2 separate regions of the Homo sapiens genome follow, and region 2 is linked to region 1. Evidence: promoter capture Hi-C in human tissues and cell types (Jung and others, 2019). All regions are on one chromosome and are shown on one strand. Each heading gives the region's core, a stretch centred on a gene start or on the middle of the fragment in contact. The rest is flanking DNA. Distances are from core to core; before and after follow the strand shown.

Evidence for each region. Contacts are between HindIII fragments. The study calls those that stand out against the background at their distance.
Region 2: a contact is called between a fragment that was not itself captured here and the fragment with the promoter of NTM in region 1, in 1 of the 25 tissues and cell types used here (mesendoderm cells).

Annotation. Positions count from the first base shown.
Region 1 is chr11:131,367,607-131,372,664 of GRCh38, forward strand. It overlaps NTM (neurotrimin), which reads left to right and starts at 3,009. Exons shown (of 9, transcript NM_001352005.2): 1 at 3,009-3,282. The coding sequence starts at 3,201. The HindIII fragment of the contact is 4,341 bases long and covers 1-3,413 here.
Region 2 is chr11:131,058,439-131,062,762 of GRCh38, forward strand. No RefSeq gene overlaps it. Among named protein-coding and RNA genes, the nearest start is that of SNX19, 140 kb to the left of the region's middle. The HindIII fragment of the contact is 4,893 bases long and covers 1-4,060 here.

The DNA of each region.
Region 1 (5,058 bases), core at 1,759-4,258:
TATTGTGTGCTGTCTGATGAAATTAATTATATGTACCAACCATTGGAAACTCAGTTAAGATTGAAAGCAGTATATGAGTCTTCCTGTAGTTTTGTATCAACATATGTATTGTTTTGTAATGTTTATTAATAATCTCATATGCTATTGAAAGCAACAAAAAGATTCTACGCTAGGATGCTTGATATCTATTTGAGTCCCTCACAGTATTTAGCACAGGATATTATTATTGAAGTTGATCTAAGATGAAAATGCTCAGGTTTAAATCCTGATTCCATTCCTTAACTGTTGTGTGGCTGTGGACAAGCTTTTTCTGAGCCTCAATGCCCTCATTTATAAAATGGGGATGATAATATCACCACTTCATAGGTTGTGATTATTTAATGAGAAAAATGCATGCAAAACACTGAGTATCATGTCTAGCACATTGCAAATAAATATCAATAAATATCAACTCCGATGATTAATTTCTTATTATCTGTACACACCTGGGAGCTTAATAAACATTGGTAACTGTATAGATTTATTACAGTTCAGGGTAAGGACATTTACAAATGTTATTGTCCACCTCTCCTGATTGGGACTAAAGACTTACCAGTGGCCCATGATCTTTATCATCGTTCTGGAGAGAAATGAAATGGTGGTGAAAGGAAGCCACCTTCCTTCTGCACTGCACTGTTATCACCTGCCGTCACAGTTGTTCCAAAGCATTTAATTACACATGTCACTATGCTGAGCACCGCACAAAAAGACTCATCTACAGATAAAATTCTTGTCCATTGGGAGCTCACGATATCAAGGACATTTTGATAGATATGTGAATTAGAACTTAATGGCAAGAAGAAAAAAAATACCAGTTAACATAAAACATCTTTAAAATGAGAAGGAGTATAATAAATTATTCCAGTTCTACAATTTTATAGACAAGAAGCCAAGGTTCACAGAGGTGAAAGGACCTGCCTGAGGTCCCTTAGTTGTGCAGAACTATGAGAAGGATCTTGAGGTCCCCAGATCTTGAGGTCCCAGGGCCCCTTCCTCTCAAGGTCACAAGATCCCACATTCCAGGCAGTGTTGTCCCTATTCATACACAACACAAGGTAAACTTGTGGGAGGCCAAGGCTGGAAGGACTGCTTGAGGCAAGGAGTTTGAAACCAGCCTGAGCAACATAGTGAGACTTCATCTCTACTATGTTGTAGAAAATTAAAAAAAAAAAAAAAATAGCTGGGCATAGTGGGTAAGGCAGGAGGGTTCCTTGAGCCCAGGAGTTCAAAGTTGCGGTGAGCTGTGATTGCACCACTGCACTCCAACCTGGGTGACGGGGCAAGAGTCTGTCAAAAACAAAAACAAAAAAGAAAGAAAAAAGAAAAAAGCCAAGGTAAATCGTACGTCTTAGACATGTGCAAAATGGCAGTGATGTTTTCATTTCACCTCTGTACACTAAAATACAAACAGACAATGAGTACTTTTCTTCTATGCAGTTTGAAAATACATGAACATTTTTATGGGGTTACAAGGAAGTATAATAATTAGCGGTGGAGTTCTAGAAGAATATTTTTAAAATGTGTGTCAAGGCATAGTAGGGGTATGAATGTGTCAGAATTAGCTAAGGAAGGTTCTGTGAGAAACTACATTTTCTTTTTCTTTTCTTTTTTTTTTTTTTTTTTCTTGAGACAGGGGCTGGCTCTGTCACCCAGACTGGATTGTAGTGGCGCCATCTTGGCTTACTGTGATCTCCGCCTCCCAGGCTCAAGCAATTCTCCTGCCTCAGCCACCCAAGTGGCTGGAACCACGGGTGCGCACCACCAAACCCAGATATTTTTAAGGAATTTTTTAGTAGAGATAGGGTTTCACCATGTTGCCCAGGCTGGTCTCGAATTCCTGAGCTCAGGCTACTGGCCTTCCTTGGCCTCCCAAAGTTGTGGGATTACAGGCGTGAGCCACAGTGCCCAGCCAGGAGCTACATTTTCTAGATTTTTTGTTCACATCCTCTAACTTGCTTCTCATAAGGGGAAGCCAAAGATTAGAATAAACTTCCAGGCCCTAGAATTAGACCTCTTAAGAAATCATTTATGTCCATTAGATTATTTCTGTTCGGTTTTTATTCTTTCCTATCACCAAGGAGGTTAATGTCTTCAACTGTCTGAGGAACTACACAAAGTTTACACTCAGAAAGCCCCTCCGCATGTCTACCCTGAATCTTTCTCGCTGCAGTTTAAATCACAGATGCTTCTATGATTGCTTTAGTGGATGTGGATTGACCAAGTCATGGGGAATAAACTCCTGCTTTGTTTTCTTTTGAAGAAGGTTCTCCATCTTCAGACTATAGAGCTTCTTCTCAAATACCAGGTACTTTGTACCTTTCCATTGTATCATATACACATGGATGAATTTAGGAAATTGACTTCTAAAAAGTGAATGAAAAAGAGGAGTAACATAGATGTTCTGAAACAGAAGTGACAGGAGGAGAAAATAGAAAGTTATTTACTATTTTCAAAGCAACTAAGTAGAAAGGTTGATGAAAGAGAGAAAAAAAAGCTGTCACTGAATGATATTTCCATTGGAGGGGAAAATAGGTACCAACAAATGAAAATTGCCTCATCTTTACAAGTTTCACTGAGCATGAAAATGTCCCTTTAAAATTTCCCATAAGCCATGGCTGGCTATGGGATTTTTCCAGTGCAAAGGGAATCTGAGTTCAGGAGGCCAGGGAATGCCAGGGGGAAAGGGATTTTCTGATACTCAGAAGACTCAGAGACTGTCAGTTTAAAAAATGAAAGTAATATAGAAGGGGCAAAGTGGCATTTATCATTCTATCTCTCCAGGCTCCTGTCTCTTTAATCAGCTAGCCTGATTTGCCCAGTAAATGATTCCTGAGAGTGTGTGTGCGTGTGTGTGTGTGTGTGTGCCCGCGCGCGTGTGTTGTAGCTCTGTCAATCCTTGGATTAGAACCAATGATTGCAGCTTGTAGGAGGGCTGTCCAGGGCCAGATTGTACAATGTGTCTCAGTGCCAGAGTATGAGTGGAGATAATTACGGAGAAGTCATACTCTCTCACACCCTCGGCTTTCTTGTTGTGTCCTTCAGCAAAACAGTGGATTTAAATCTCCTTGCACAAGCTTGAGAGCAACACAATCTATCAGGAAAGAAAGAAAGAAAAAAACCGAACCTGACAAAAAAGAAGAAAAAGAAGAAGAAAAAAAATCATGAAAACCATCCAGCCAAAAATGCACAATTCTATCTCTTGGGCAATCTTCACGGGGCTGGCTGCTCTGTGTCTCTTCCAAGGTAAGAGCTTGCTATTGATTTGCCTTCGGTAGACCCAGGAATTGTACAGTGTGCTTTATAAGATTTGCAGACTCCCCGAGTCGGCTGTGCTGCGCTGTTTGCAGGTGGAGGAGAGAGCGTTTAGACAGCATGGCTGGGACTTCATTCTCCCGACTAGGCTGTGAGAATATTGATTTGATTCTGGCTGCTACCGGAATGGGGGAATATGTATGTGCATAAGTAAAATGTGTTTGGTGCTCCTGTTAGGACTGTGCTTGTGTGCAAGGCTCCCTGGCTTCATGCACATTCTTGCACACATACACAACGGAGCACACATGTAAGCAGGGGGAAATGACAGATTCGGAGGGCAACAGGGTTGCTAATGTGTTGCTTATGCGACTGGGAAGAAATTACAAGAGGAAACTTTAAATATCGGCCAGCGAACTTGCAAAGCTTTTAAAAGGAGCAAAGGGGAAAATGCAGGCTAGAAAGAATCAGGTGCTTCCTGTGAGGTTCTGGTCAGCGATCCAGCTGCAAGGGATGAGTCAATTTGCAGCAGTGGGGGACAACTGTATTAGTTTTAAATGTGTTCGGGGGTGTGTTTGTGGCTGGGGTCGGAGGTGTGGAAGCGAGGGGAGCCGGGGCTCTGAAATTCTAAAAAGCTTTTCGAAGTTGAAGGGAGAGAGGCAATAAGAGTCGAATGCTAATTTTCTGTTTATTTATCGGCTGAGCCGGGAGCCCTGGGGGCTGCAGTTGAGTGCAAGCTTTGATGTCCCCAGTGCTGTGTTCTGTGCATTTGGAATCGGCCTCCACCTTGAGTCCATTTGCTGCACCGTGCCTCCCCACACCCCATCCCGGCTCTCACGTCTGTTCGTTCCAGCAACAGAATTATCCACTAATCTTCTTGCTCCCACCTGCCCTGTCCTTTGGGGTAACTAGTTTGCCTCTTTTATATTAAACACAGCTAAAACTCGTAAGGATCGAGACAAGCTGAGAAACTTTCCCAGGGTGGCCCAGCAGGGCTCCGGGAGGAGGAGCCCTCTCTTGGGAGGTGAGGCTCAGTCCTATGCAGTTGTATTCCCAGAGGAAAGTTCCCTCTGACCCGGTGAAAAACGATGGGGAGTCCCACCCCCTCGCCCTCTTCTCCCCCTGCAATATGGAGTTCTCCTGATCTGGACTGAGTCCTGAGCTGTAGTCCTGCTGGCTCTTCTCCGAGGTTAGGATTTAGGGATTGCTGCTGTCCTCTTGACATAGGTTGCAGTGGCTGCAGTGTGGATCCACGTAAGGTGGGCAGAGAGACCAGGCTGGAAGGATCAAATGTGTACACCCTTGACTGGGGCTCGATGAAGAAGGCAAGGGGTGGGGACAGGAGGGATCTGTGTCGGGTGATAAGGAAGTCCAAGGTGGTGAATCTTGCAGGGATGTCCATGATGTCGTCTGCTGCACCCAACCCCAGGAGGCATGGGCCTCAGGATTCCCTGCTGTCCCCTAGGGGCTTTGGTGGGTGTTTGAGTGAAGGGAATCAACTTGGAGGCATCCTCGATTGACTCCTCTTATATAATATGAAGCAGTATCAGTGTGTGTGTGTGTGCGTGCGTGTGTGTGCACCCCTGCTTGTTCTGGGTGCACAAGAATGAAGTGGGGAAGCTGAGTTCAGGATCGGGCAGTTTCGGAAAAGCAGTTTCTGTGGGGGTTGACAGCAAAAATGAAAACTAAGCAGGCAAGGGGTAGGGTGAGGGGTCAGAGGTAGGGAGAGGGAAGGTCCCAAGCCCTCAGTCATTTCTATCTGTCCCGAGA
Region 2 (4,324 bases), core at 364-2,863, 310 kb before region 1:
CATTAACATAGTTCAAATTTCCCTCTTCAGCTTATTTTCTTCCACTTGTTTTAGTGCAGTTTTTCATCTGCTCAGGACTGGATTATTACAACATCCCTTTCTCTCCTTCACTTTACCTTCATACGGCTGACCGCATGACTTTCCAGTGTCCACATTGTTGTTCACCCATTTAAAATCCTTTAATGACTTTCTTTCAGTTTCAAGATAATGGTCAAACTTCACAGCATGGTCTATTATTTATGTATTGTTGCCTAACATATAACCCTACAACTTAGCAGTTTAAAGCCCAAACATGGTCTCTGAGCATTAAGCATCTGGGAGTAAGCTTGTAGTCAAGCTGTCAGCTGGGGCCGCCATCTCTGAGTGCTTGACTGACTGGGAGATCTGCTTCGTAGCTTACTCACAGGATTATCGGCAGGGGTTTTCAGTTTCTTACTAATCTTGGACATGACCTGCCATCACTTCTGCTGTGTGCTGTTGGTCATACAGACCAGCCTTGATAGAATGCAGGAGGGGACCACACCACTGTCTGAATACCAGGATCACTGTGGGTAGGGCCATTTTGGAGACTATTTTAGCTTCCGTTTCTATTGTACTTCCATATCAACCTCCATCATAACTATTAATTTCTTCCTTGTGCTCTGGATTTTAGCTATGCTAAACTTCTAATGCATTGTGTTTTCAAAATTCTTTGTCACCACTTGCTGTTTTCTCTTCCTGAAAAATCCTTTCTATTCAATTTTTTTTTTTTGCCTGGATAACTCTATTTTGCCTTCTATGACCCTTAACTTCCAAAAGACCTCCCCTGACATCCCTTGACTCCAACTTTAGGTCTTTCTCTAGGCTTTCATAGTGCTCCAACTCATCTCCATTGTGCTACACTCTAGTGTGCTACTAGAGTGCACATTGTGCTACTCTACATTTTATTGTAATTATTGGTTTATGAGTCTCCTACACTCTAGTGTGATGTCCCTGAGTTGAGAGATAGTGGATTATTTATCATCCATTTTATTCCCAATATCGAAGTGCTGGAACACAATAGGAGTTTAATAAATGCGTGATGAATGAGTGAATAAATGAATGCCGAGTTTACTGCAGAATATGAATTTTAGGGAGGAAAGAACACAAGCTCTTCTGTCAAATTTTATTATGTCTTAAAATTTTGTGGGTCAGGATTATGGGAAGGCTTCTCCTAGCAATTCTTTTGCTCCATGTGGCGTTAAGTAAAGTCACTCAGCAGTATTTGACTAGTCCGGAAAGTAAAAGATGTCCTCATTCATGACTGGCACCTTGTTAACCATGACTAAAAGGTTAGGCTCGGCTGGGAGTACCCATTGGGGGCTCAACAGAACGGCAGCTCAGGGTAGTCTGATTTCTTGGATGGCTGTTAAGAGCTCTCAGAGATAGTGTTTCAAGAGAGCAAGTAAGAAACTTCAAGGCTCCTTCTGGCCTAGCTTTGGAACATCACTTATACTGCATTTTATAAGTTCCAGCAAGTCACACAGCCAGCCAGTATCCAATGACAGGAGACTACGAGGTCATGAGTAGCAGGTGGCACAGCTCATTGGGAAGCCGACTTTGGACACTAGCTCCCACAACTATAATCAACTATTGTCATGTTTAGCCTATGCTAACTTTCTCTACTATTTTTTTGAATGTGAAAATTTCCAATGTTTCCATCTTGTCTTTGTGAATAAAAAGGAGGAATATGGCTCTATTACTGTACGTTGAGGCAGATGAGCAGCTGAATGAAAATTATATCCATAGGGTGTTTTACATAAGTAGATGTCAAAGTTAAAGGAAGTCTATACAGGCATGATAGAGGGCTTTGTTCTTTAATTGCAACCTTTTCAATGGATAATTTGATAAAGATTCTCAACTGCGGTGGAATCTCTTTTCTAAGGGCATTTTAGAGGTGTGTAGTATGATTTTCCATTGTCACAATGTCAATCAGATGTTGTTCATTAATATTTAATTCCATCCTGCAATATGAGGGACAGTCCCACACAACAAAGAATTTTCCTGTCTAAAATTTCATTAGCACTCTTGTTGAGAAACACTGAATACATAAAGATATGCCTCTCATATTTGCGGATGTCACAACCTATTATAATTATGATATGAGAGAACTGACTCAATAGCTGATTATGTGGAAAAAATAGAGATTTTAGTTGGATGCAAGAGCCAACTTCATGATGTGTCTGCCAAAAATTGCTGCTATCTTAAGCTATATTAATAGAAATTTCAGTCCAGAACACAGAAAGCTATATTAATAGAAATTCCAGTTCACTATATACTGGTCAAAGAGCTCTTGAAGTTTGATGGTCATTTCTGGGCACCTGGTTTTAAAAGTGGCGTAGATAAATCAAAGAATGGCCAAAAGGAGGACAGAAAGTCTGGAAGCCATGCCTTACGAGTGGGGAAACATGAAAGCGATCTTCGAATATTTGAAATGTTGTGTGAAAGAAGGATTGGGCACATCCTTTGAGATTCTAGAAAGCAAAATTAGGTTAAATGAAGAAAGATTTTTTAACCACTGAAACAGTTTTTCAAAAAATGTAGTGTTCTGCCTTGTGTGATAATTATCCCTGCCTTGAAGGGTCCCTGCAGAGAGTGGACAGCCATGGGCCAAGGGGTGGTTTTAAATTAACTGAATATTGTGAAGAGAACACCTATATGAAGTGGTACCCTTCAGTTACTTTTCATTATTGTGATTATTTTATGATTAATGGACTCGTATTTATAAAATACTGTGGACACCACCTCTCCATGCTTCTAAAATAATGCCTCAGTTCTTAATACCTTTCTCTAGCTTCATACCCCTAAAGAAATCCCTTAAGCTAGCTAAGATCTCATTTCTTCAATCACAAAATAAGAAATTATGGTGCTTGACATATTTGTTTAACAGGATAGCTATGATCATCAAATTACCCAATAGTTTTAAGCTGTAAAGTATAAAACAAAGAAATTATTTTTTTTCATCAAAGTTGTGGACTGTCAATATGCATTCCTATAACTGTCTTTTGCCTGAGAGAAATGTTTTAAAATTATTTTTAAAGCCTATTCTAATGACTTGTCATTATTTTCCAGCTTTCTGATAAGGTGTGAAGGTCTCTAATAGCTGTCAACAGTGTGTCACAGGGAGTGATTTAATTAGCACTTACTGTTCTCTTATTGGTTGGCCTTTATTTGGTCCAATACAAAGTCCAACTTTTAAACCAAGGGAGAAGACAAGAAAGGGTGACGCAGAGATAAGCTTTTGCTTAAAAAATGTTTATTTGGGGGAAAATGTTATCATCATGATCTTCCAAAACACATTATATTACTAAATGTGTATTGGCATCTACTCTCTTACTTTAAGATGGTTCCAGTTTTTGAAGTAGCCCAAATCCCCCAGATTGTTACCAGAAATTATCAAAAGGAGAAGAAACACATTCACTTCAGCTGATTTTTGTTGTTGTTTATTGGAGATCCAAGGTAGTCAAATTAGCCTCAAGAAGCCCTTCTGAAGTCTAAGAAGGAAAACCAAATTACTGTTCATTTAATGTTTAATTAAATTTATTATAGCTAGTAGGCTGGTTTTAGGCTGTTTATGGTACACTAATGTTAGAATTTTATGCATTCTATGTACACTTGATAGCACATTGGGGTCTCTCGGTATAATCAACATGTACAATATACTCATGCCCATTTTATGTGAGTTGGAACACACCTTTACTATTTTAAATGATTATAGAAGTTTATAGTTATATTTCTCCCCTTAAATTGTTAGTGATGTCTATAATTTATTTGATGCCACATTCTTGATATGGAACTCAATTCCGAATTAGCAATCTTCCTACAGGGAAAATTCTACTTGGTTCATAAAATGCATTTTAGTATGAGATTTCTAGGAATGCGGTTACAAAATGAGGCAACCGTCTGCATTTTCACTAGAGGTAAATGGCGGTTTTTTTTTTTTTAACTAAAGATAAAGATGATAGTTCTTCACATGGAACTGCAAATAAGTGAAAGTGAATACTGATTTCTCCTGACGTTGCGAGCGTTGGTCTTCAGTGCCCTTCCATTTAGAGTCATTCCTTCCCTTACCTTCTGCAAGTGTTTCTACATCAAAAAACAGAGCGGAAAGAAATTTTCGAAAACATCTTGTCCTAGTCTGACCCTGCACGTATAAAAATGCTGAGGTCGGGGTGTCACAAGTGACTTGCCTCGACCTGTGGGGCTGGGAAAGGCGGGAGCCAGGCTTGAATTCAGATCTGAATTCAAACCCGGGATGATTTTTCCTATTCACATTTCTCCTTACTATTGTGGTGAAACTTGAGGA